Regions from separate parts of the Homo sapiens genome. Here region 2 is linked to region 1. Evidence: promoter capture Hi-C in 16 types of primary human blood cells and fetal thymus (Javierre and others, 2016). All regions are on one chromosome and are shown on one strand. The core of a region is centred on a gene start or on the middle of the fragment in contact, and the rest is flanking DNA. Distances in the headings are between cores, read along the strand shown. Region 1 holds the start of TAF1A (TATA-box binding protein associated factor, RNA polymerase I subunit A). Region 2 overlaps LOC124904518 (a long non-coding RNA gene).

Evidence for each region. The method cuts DNA at HindIII sites, captures the fragments that hold promoters and counts their contacts. A CHiCAGO score of 5 or more calls a contact.
Region 2: a contact is called between a fragment that was not itself captured here and the fragment with the promoter of TAF1A in region 1, in 1 of 17 cell types (non-activated CD4 T cells). The highest score is 5.2, in non-activated CD4 T cells.

The regions. Positions count from the first base shown.
Region 1 is chr1:222,587,169-222,591,930 of GRCh38, reverse strand. TAF1A (TATA-box binding protein associated factor, RNA polymerase I subunit A) reads left to right here and starts at 1,998. Exons shown (of 11, transcript NM_005681.4): 1 at 1,998-2,204; 2 at 3,366-3,488. The coding sequence starts at 3,368. It overlaps TAF1A-AS1 (TAF1A antisense RNA 1), which reads right to left and starts at 2,011. Exons shown (of 3, transcript NR_110613.1): 1 at 1,969-2,011; 2 at 1,524-1,673. RefSeq lists enhancers at 965-1,497, 1,498-2,031. The HindIII fragment of the contact is 1,624 bases long and covers 727-2,350 here.
Region 2 is chr1:222,095,989-222,100,750 of GRCh38, reverse strand. All of the region lies in intron 1 of LOC124904518 (a long non-coding RNA gene), which reads left to right. Among named protein-coding and RNA genes, the nearest start is that of LINC01705, 39 kb to the right of the region's middle. RefSeq lists a silencer at 1,777-1,977. The HindIII fragment of the contact is 2,581 bases long and covers 744-3,324 here.

The DNA of each region.
Region 1 (4,762 bases), core at 749-3,248:
CTTTAATAGATTGCACAGGAAGCGTTCATGGAAATAATATTCCTTAAATGACAGTTTGCAACTTTAAAAACAACATAATTCATCACCATATTAAGTTGCTCTGTAGCACAAAGTAATTGTAAGAACATGTTTTTCTTAGGACATGTTTTCTTATAGATTGAAATCTAGAAAAGTCTTTGCATGCTTTATGTTTTCATATTTGTCATGCCTTTTTTTTTTTTTTTTTTGAGACATGGTCTTGCTATGTTGCCCAGGATGGAATTGAACTTTTGAGCTCAGCGATCTTCCTGCCTCAGCCTCTGGAGTAGCTGGGACTACAGATGCCTGCCACGGCAACCTTCCCTCCTTCCTTCTTGTTTATGCTATTGGATGTGATCTAGTTGATTTTTTTTATCTCTTCTCTCCAACACATTTTCTGTCAGAATTGCAGCATGGGAAAGAAAAAGCATAGGTAGGGCACGTTTCCTACTGCTCCTTAGAGCTGTTTGAGAACTTCGAGGAAAATCTGAAAGCTCTTCCTCATTTTCGGGAGAACATAAACTTTTTTCCATGTAAAATCATTTCTGGGCTGGTTTTGGTGAATTTACACCTCAAGCCAATGGGAGAAAAGTAGCCAGACTAAGCCTCTAGACAAGAAAGTAATGATTATGTATGTTATTTTGTGTGTGGTCTCCTGGACTACGCATAATTTATGTTAGCCCTGCCTGTAGAGTTAGAGCACAAGCTTGAGTGAGGACTCAAGAACTAATGACAGAGAGAGCAGCAGAAGGAACTTTTCTTGCAAGTCCTTAACTACTGCATATTGTTTTATGCAGAAGACAACATAGAATCAACTATTTGTAGCATTTTAAGGAATCCATGTACAAAATTTTTTTTGACAGGGTCTCATTCTGTCGCCCAGGCTGGAGTGCAGTAGGGTGATCACAGCTCACTGCAGCCTCGACCTCCCTGGGCTCAGGTGATCCTCCCACCTCATCCTCCCGAGTAGCTGGGACTAGAGGCATGCATCATCACCCCAGCTTATTTTTTTTTATTTTTATTTTGTAGGGACGGGGTTTCATCATGTTGACTAGGCTGGTTTCGAACTCCTGAGCTCAAACTTTCCGCCTGCCTCGGCCTCCCAAAGGGCTGGGATTACAGGCATGAGCCACCGCGCCCGGCCTCAAACTCTTACCAGACCCTTTAATTTCCTCTCCGATACTCCGATTCTACTCAAACTGTTCACCTACACAGAGGAAACTCAGTGATTCCTGGGGGAGCCTATGCTATATTTGTGCATCCTCATTTGTGGACAAAATTCTTTCTTGCTGTGACTTGAAAGCAGCCTCCCTTTACCTTTCACTTATTAGTCCTAGTTCTGTTCTCTGCTGCTAAGAAAAAGGGTCTGATCCTTCTTTCACTGATCAGCCCTCCAAATATTGGAGAAGCACACTGCGTTTCCATGGGCCTGCAGTCCTTTTCCGGGATCATCTTCCCTAGAACCCCTCAACTGTCTCTCATTTCACACGGTTTAACCATCTTACCTTTAACCCATATTTCATTTGTTTGTCTCAATGTCCCTCATGAAAGTTGACCCAGACGGGTCCGCAGAACAACTTTTGCTGAGAAGGCAAAGGAAATTCTCGCCCAAATTGTGGAGAAGGCAGTCGAACCAATTAAACCTAAAGCTAAAACTGTAATAGAAAAGAACTTTCAAGCTCGCAATGAAAAGGCTATGCATGGATTTATCTCATCACAGCCACTAGCCACACCTCCACTCGTGCAGTGCGCCTGCGAGCCGAGCAGAAACCAATGGCCCATCGTAGTGAATTTCTCGGGTAAAGTGACATTCTCCGCTTTTGAATGCTCCCTTCGCCCAGCCGCCAACCCCTCGCCCCAATTTCCATTTTAAATGAAAGTCTCCCACTTTCTAGCTGAGACAGACAAAAATAAAACTCGGGCAAAACCAATCGCAGAGAGGCAGCTCACTGTCACTTCCTGGGTCACTTCCAGAAGTCACTTCCGGGGTCGAGGCGAGGCCAACGATACGCCTGCTGCAGCAGGAGGAGTTACGAGCCGGGCCGCGCGCTGCCTAAATACCTAAACCAGGTTTAGCGCCTGCTCATATAAAGCTCTCCTAACTCGTCTTCCGGTGGGAATTTCTTCACGTGGGCCGGAGTCGGAGACTGAGTTTAGCTTTACTGAGGAGCTCTAAATTTAGGCGGGTAAGTGCCGCAGATATCGCCCGTGGTTCCTGCGTTTAAATGGAACGGGAAGGGGTGTGTCAGGATTCATCCATGTTCTCCTGATATTTCCTCCTAATACCTGAAACCCTTGGGGTCTGAAAACGAAAGAAGGGGATAGAGAAGCTTTGGTTGCCGTGGCAACTGCGGGTCACCAATTTGGGTTTTTGAGGATTTGGAAAGGGAGGATTTGTGTAACTACTCCTGAAAACACGTGATGGGTCGGATTCAAATTCAGTTGTTACTTATAATTCATACTCCTAGCCACATGCTTTGAATTTAGAAGGTTTACTCTGGGTATAATGCAGAGATGCAAAATCTGAGCCAGGGTAATTGTTTAGAAAGCTGATGCGGTAATCTAGGCACTGTTTGAAGGGGTCTTGAACTAGAGTAGTGCTGTAGGATTGAAGAGGGGAAATAGGGGAAATTTGGAGGTAGTATCAGGGGCACTAATACTCGATTTCATATGGGTAATGAGGAAGGGGCCCTGAGCATCTTTAGGAGTAAGTCTAAACTCACCTTGGCTTATGATGATTTTTCTAGGTTCGTTTCTCACCTTCCGCACCCCTCCTCCACACGCACCTCGAATTCTAGTCATGCCAAGTAGTTTGGTGTTCTATTTCCTAGACTATCGTCCTCACCATTTTTTGTGATGTTAGGCAGGTTCCATCATTTCACTAAGCCCCTCAGTTTTTTCAACCTTCACATGGAAGAAAGTAATAGTACCCACCTCAGGATTGCTGTGGGGATTAAATTAGATAATTTATACTTCTAGTGCATAGTAAGGGCCTAATAAATATTAGCTGCTACTTCTATTCTTACTGTACTTTTCATATTGTTTTGTTATTATACGTTTTGCTGTTTCTTCGTCTAGACTTGAGATTTTTTAAATTAGAGGGGCAGTATCTTATTTATCTTTACATGGACTTGAAACATTAGTGGTTCGGTCTTTAATGGATCATTCATTTTGGCTGTTGCTGACATAGTTAAATTCATTTTTTACTTTAAAAGAGCTGACAGGTATAATGCATTTTGCTAATCAAATTATATTTATTAGATAAAAAGATAGCCGTTTTTCTGTACAACTCAGAAGACTGTGGATTAAGATGTACAGAAAGTAACTGATATCTCATCTTGTAATAGGTATGAGTGATTTCAGTGAAGAATTAAAAGGGCCTGTGACAGATGATGAAGAAGTGGAAACATCTGTGCTCAGTGGTGCAGGAATGCATTTTCCTTGGCTTCAAACATACGTAGAAACTGTGGGTAAGTAAAATAATAACATTGAGCCATTTTAACTTTAAGGAGGTGGTAAGATTCAATAGGGATACAAAATGAATAACCAGACTGGTTTAATTTTCAAGAGGAATATGTGGAGGGTTTTTTGGCTAAAAGCCAAAAGAAATCTTTTTTCTTTTAGAATTCTTTGCCCTTGGATTAATAATAGATAGTCTGTATTATGCTAGATACACATTTTTTCCAGTAATACTTACTGAGCACTTTTATCTCTGGCATTGATTAAATATTGGGGAGTCATAGGTGAAGATATGGTCTCTGCCATTGAGGAAAACATGCCTAGGAAGTGTTCAAGAAGTTGCTGTTGAATTGCATTGAAATTATTTCGAATAGAATTGATCGTGTAATAGATTTTTTTTTTTTTTGAGACAGAGTCTTGCTCTGTTGCCCACGCTGGAGTGCAGTGGCTAGATCTTGGCTCACTGCAACCTCTGTCTCCCAGGTTCAAGTGATTCTACTCAGCCTCCCGAGTAACTGAGATTACAGGTACCAGCCACCACGCCTGGCTAGTTTTTGTATTTTTAATAGAGACAGGGTTTCACCATGTTGGGCAGGCTGTTCTTGAACTCTTGACCTCAAGTGACCTGCCCACCTCAGCCTCCCAAAGTGGTGGGATTACAGGCATGAGCCACTGCACCCGGCCTAGATAAAAGAGCATTTTCCCCCATTTTTATCTAATGTAAATGCAAGCATGATTTTCTATGGGATAAAATTTCCCCCATTTTTATCTAATATAAATGCAAGTATGTTTTTCTATGGGATAAATTCCCTATAAGAATATATTTAATATAAGTATAAATAAAAGAAGCTATTATCTGTATGCTGGCATATTGAGTGGTATAGTCCTGGGATTACATTTGAACCAGCATTTTACTTACTGCCCTTAAATATGTGTTTTTTTGCCCAGCCTTTTCTCCCCTTGACAGAGATTCCTTGGCTCCTAAAATTTCGCTTCCATTTTTTTCTTTTGATCTAAGTATCATCCCATTTAATGATCTCAGTAAATTCTCAATAAATTTTTATGCTAGGCAGTTTAGGTAGGATGAAACTGAATCTCAAAGACATTAAACTCTTAAGTGGTATCAGGAGTCAAATCCAGGTTTGTCTGATCTCAAAGCTTACACTTTTAACGACTGAGATGCATTTTTAAAAATGAGACAATATATGTAAAGTACCTAGCATAGTATCTCATGCATAATGAGTGTTGAAAAATAATAGTGCCTTTCCTCTCCTCATTTTATTTT
Region 2 (4,762 bases), core at 785-3,284, 490 kb after region 1:
TTAACAAAGGCAGGAGGATCCTGGCATATTCAGTATCAGCAACAGAGAGAGTAGTATGTGATGAGGTCAGTGAGGAAGGGCCAAGGAGATCAGGTGGGAGCCGGTGGCCACTGCAAGGATGTTGGCTTTCGTCTGAGTGAGATGGAGCAACAATGCAGGGTTTAGATCAGAGGAGTGACATGATTTGAGCTGGGATTTAAACAAATTTTGGAAAATAGGGACCACGTCTTAGTCACTTTTGTAATGCTAGTGTCAGAAAATTCTTTGGAACCTGAGAAATGCTTAACAAACTTGAGCAGAGTTGCAGTACATTACTAAAGACAAGCAAAAAAAAAAAAAAAAAAAAAAAAAAGCACTGTCCCAGGTCATTGATAAGAGCACTAGTTGTGTTTGAGGTAGAAGATAAAAAGATTCGTTTGGGGAATATTGTATTTATTATTTTAAAGTCTTAATATTTACATTCTGTCCAGGACTTCAATGCCCACATGCCAATAGCTCATCCCTCAAAGGGTATCTGTCATATTGATAAAACCTCCTACAGCTCAAGAGTCTCTGTGTCTACCTTGCACCTCTACCTGGCCAGGACTGATTGGCTTTCAACAATTTAGTTTCCAATCTTCAGGTTTTGAGAAATGTGAAGCACATTCAGATGTGAATTGTATTGATAATCCAGGCCATTATTATTATAATCCCTAGGAAATCATGAAGCCAAAAGAGCTTTTTCATTCAGCAACAAAAAAGCTTTTATCCTCTATCCCCAGCTGACATACTTTCATAGAGGACTTGTCTTTGATCTGCCCTCTTTGTTTTTTGTTTGTTTGAGATGGGTTTGTTTCTTCATTCGTCAAGGCTGTGAGCTCACTAAAGACAAACTTCAGGAAGGAAAGCAAATGAAGTTCTGATTGTGAATTCCTGGTCTCTTATGGCAATTCCGGAACTGCCCCTTTTCAAAAGGATCCTAAGTACTTTGGTGGGAGCCTAGGTAGAGTTTGCAAGAGGGGCAGCCTGTTTTAGGGCTGTAGCTTGGATTTTCAGGTTTAAACATTAAAGTTTCTGCCTTGTCTTTGCTATGCATAAGCTGATGACCTGGGCAAGGCAACTCATCTCTTAGCACAAAGGGAGGCAGAAGAAGCATTCACTGAATTCCATTTATGGGCTCACACTAGGCCAGGTGCTAATGATGCATGATAGTCTAACCCTTATAACAACACTATGAATTGAATATATCTCCTTCTTACAGGAAAGGCAACAGAGGCTCAAAGAGCTTCAATAAGTGGCTCAAAGACATATGGCTGATGAGTGTTAAAACTAGAATCAGCATGTTTCCAAAGACCACACACTTGCCCTGCCTCCTTCTGAACCTGGGCTTATTCATCTCTAAGATGAGTTCCTTAGTTTTCCTTCAAGGTCTTTCCAGCTTCAAAAATTTGTGATTGAGTGAGGTTGGATTCTAACAGCACAGGAATTCATTATATAGGGCTGGAACTCAGTTGGGTTCATAGCAACCCTCCTCCTTCTTCTAGCTAAGACTTTCCATTCATAAAGGTTGGTTCCCACCTCCAACGTGACACCCCAGTCTCACTCCTCATCACTCTTCTTTGCACTGCACTAGAAATTCTTGCTTTCATCTCCCAAACTTGCTCATTTGCCTCTTCTCCTTCTGCAGAAACCTCTTTCTCTTTTTCTCCTCACATAGTTTTTCCCTCCTCCAACATAGCTCTCTGAAAAACTTACCTTCTCTTTTTCCAGGCATATCTTATTTCTATCTGAAAGGTTTCCTGGTTAAATAAACAATTCGAATGGCTTTGGAAAAGTCACTTCACTCGGCATTTAGTTCTCATTTGTGAAGTGAGACTGCTGTATTACATGGTCTCTGTAGGCTCTTCCAGTGCCAAAATTCTCATTACAAATAAATCTCGAATCTCTTTCTTTCCCTAGCAGCTGTGGGCTTTGTTTCTACATTAGGTCAATGTGCAGTCTCTACCATACTTCTTTGTTTTTATTCCTGGGTTTTTGCCACATGCAGCATTTAGGTGGTTCTAACTGAACTGTAAACTCTTGAAAAGAGGGGACCTTGTGACTTCCTTCTTCCTAACCCCTCCACTCCTATCTCTGGTCCACAAGACTAATCCACAAACTCAGGGGTTATTCAAATAATGCCATCAACTGTTGGACAGATGACAGATGGCAAGTGCCATCCACAGCCTTGTTTTTCTGGTGTCCCTGTCATATTGTCGACATTCAGCTTTTTCAAAAATATCTTTAGTTACTCATTAGTCTGAGAATTAGGCCTTAGCTGTTGGCTATTCTATGAATGGCTCTTTCGGTACAAACTAACTGAATCTGTGTCTATGCCCTTAATTGGAAAGATAAATTTAAATGGAACTGTCTCCTTGTGATGTCCTCTGAATTTCAGAAATGAAATTTGGGTCCTCTCAGTCTGATGGAATGCATAACACTTCCAGAGTTATCAGGAACCTGTCAGAATCATTATGGTTAGATATAAGTGTTTTTCTAAATGCTGCTATCCATGGAGTCTGATGTTTGAATTGCAGTGGTGGAAGACAGTATTTATGCAGTCATTCATTCAAACATCATTTTATTGAGCACTGACTATGTGTCAGACACTGGGGTAAAAGGATAAGTAAAACTTGGTTCTTGCCCTTAAGAGGTATTTGGCCAAAAAGGAAAGGGGTACTAAAACAGTTACTATAATGCACAGAGATACACTGTTATAAAGTATATAAGAGTATAAACAGACAGGGAGAGTCTCCAGGGATGATAGGAATCGAATCAAGTTGAGCAGTCAGTCTGGTCAGTCTGTTTTACAGCCTCCTGCCCTGCAGCCTGTGTGGAATGCAGTCACCTTGTTGGTTTAAACCAGGTCCTGACTGATCCTGGCAACTTCTAGATGAACTCGAGTGAACTTTCCTCATTACTATGCCAAAGTCTCCACCCTGGGAGGAGCTATACCTGCATTACCATGACATGCAACCCATATGCTGGCATGATGACTCATCATGTCTGTGCAACTGGGACCCCTCCTCTACCTGCCATGATGCACCCTTCTCCATTGCCGCATAAAACCCTCCTGTCCCCTTCTCTCCGGGAGACACTGCTTTGGAGAACACTCCCAGTATCCTCCTTACTTGCACCAAGTAATAAAACTCTTATTGATCAAAACCTGTGTTCTCGTGGAGTTACTCACCAGCTGAACAAATCCTGTTTTATTGAGGGTAACAGAGGTCCTGAAGAGGTAGGAATTGGATATAACCAGAGGCATCACAGACGATGCCACAGAGTATGTGAATTTAGGGCTAAGCTTTAGTAAGATCTGGCAGCAAAAGGCAGAGGGCATTTCAGGGAGAGAAACACCCAAAGGCACAGGGTAAGTATGGAGAATGAGGGCATGGGTGAAGGGACTGGCGAAAATCAGATTAAAAGGTAAGCAGGGGCCAGATAGTGAAAGGCTTTAAATGCCCTACAGAGGAAGCTCTATGCCAGTGGCTCTCCTGCTGTAGTGGGCTGAAGGCTTATAAAGGGACTTGGCTGAACATGTAGATTTCTGGGACCTACTGATTTGATTCAGCTGGCTTGAAGTGGAGCTTAGAAATCTGCATTGTAAGCCAGCCTCCTGGATGATTCAGATGTAGGCAGTCTGCTGGTAATCTTGTGCAGATATTGTTGTCAGCAGTGGAAAATACAAAGAGTGACATACAGCCTCATACTGGGCTTAGAAAGACAAGTCTAGCAGGTGAGTATGGCAGCTGAGTTGAGGGAGAAAGGCTCATCGTGATGTGGTCAGTTAGCATTTCACTGTGACGGTTCACACGAGAAACGCCCAATGCCTCAACTGTGGCAGTAGGCAGTGGTAATGCAGAGACAGAGGTGAGAACTCTTGCAGAGGGAGAATCCTCAGAATTCAGCAAATGAATGAAAGTTGAGGGGAGAGAGAGAGGGGAGAATCACAAGTACATTTAGTAGTTCTCACAGGAGTAATTAGGGTCTAGTGTCATTAATGCAAAGTAAAATATGTTTGAGTGAGAAGATAAAAAGGTTGGGTTGGGGCATATTGAGACTTCAGTGTCAGTGGAAGCTACAACTAGAGATTTAATTCAGGTCTTCTCCAGGTTTGCTTTTGGGGAATATGAATATATGTAGGGGATAGTTGAAGCCATGGGATTCTATGAGACAAAGTGATAACTTTGGGATAGAGACCAGAGAAAGTCAAAGACAGCGCCTGAGGCACCTCTGCCTTTAAGGGAAGAGAAGATGGGGCGGGACCTAGAACTAACTTAGGTGAGTGAATCTCACCTAAATTAAAGGGAGGGGAGAATTTAACTGAGGACTTTTTCAACATCAGGCTGAGACTGAGGCACAGTTTGCCCCCTAGAGGCAAGGAGGGGAATTGCGGGGAAGAGCCAGATGTGCTGAAAGGCAGAGGGGGGAAGTCCACACACACAGACGAGGGCTAAGAAGTGAGCTAATGGACGTGTCAATATATGTTTGTATGCACACGCATATACCTGTGCATGCATGTGTGCACCTGGGTGTATGTGTGGGCATGAAATTTGTGTTCATTATGTGCTACATAGGTAAGAGCCTTCTTTGTGACAGGTATGTGACAATCCTGTGAGTGAGGTGGGGGAATAGTAGCCAAAGTGTGCAGGACACCAAGAGGTCAGAAATCAAAGAGCAAGGGAAAGTAAGAGCCAGGAGCTGTGGGGCAGGGCTGGAGGAACTCCAGGGAGGGGCGCTGACA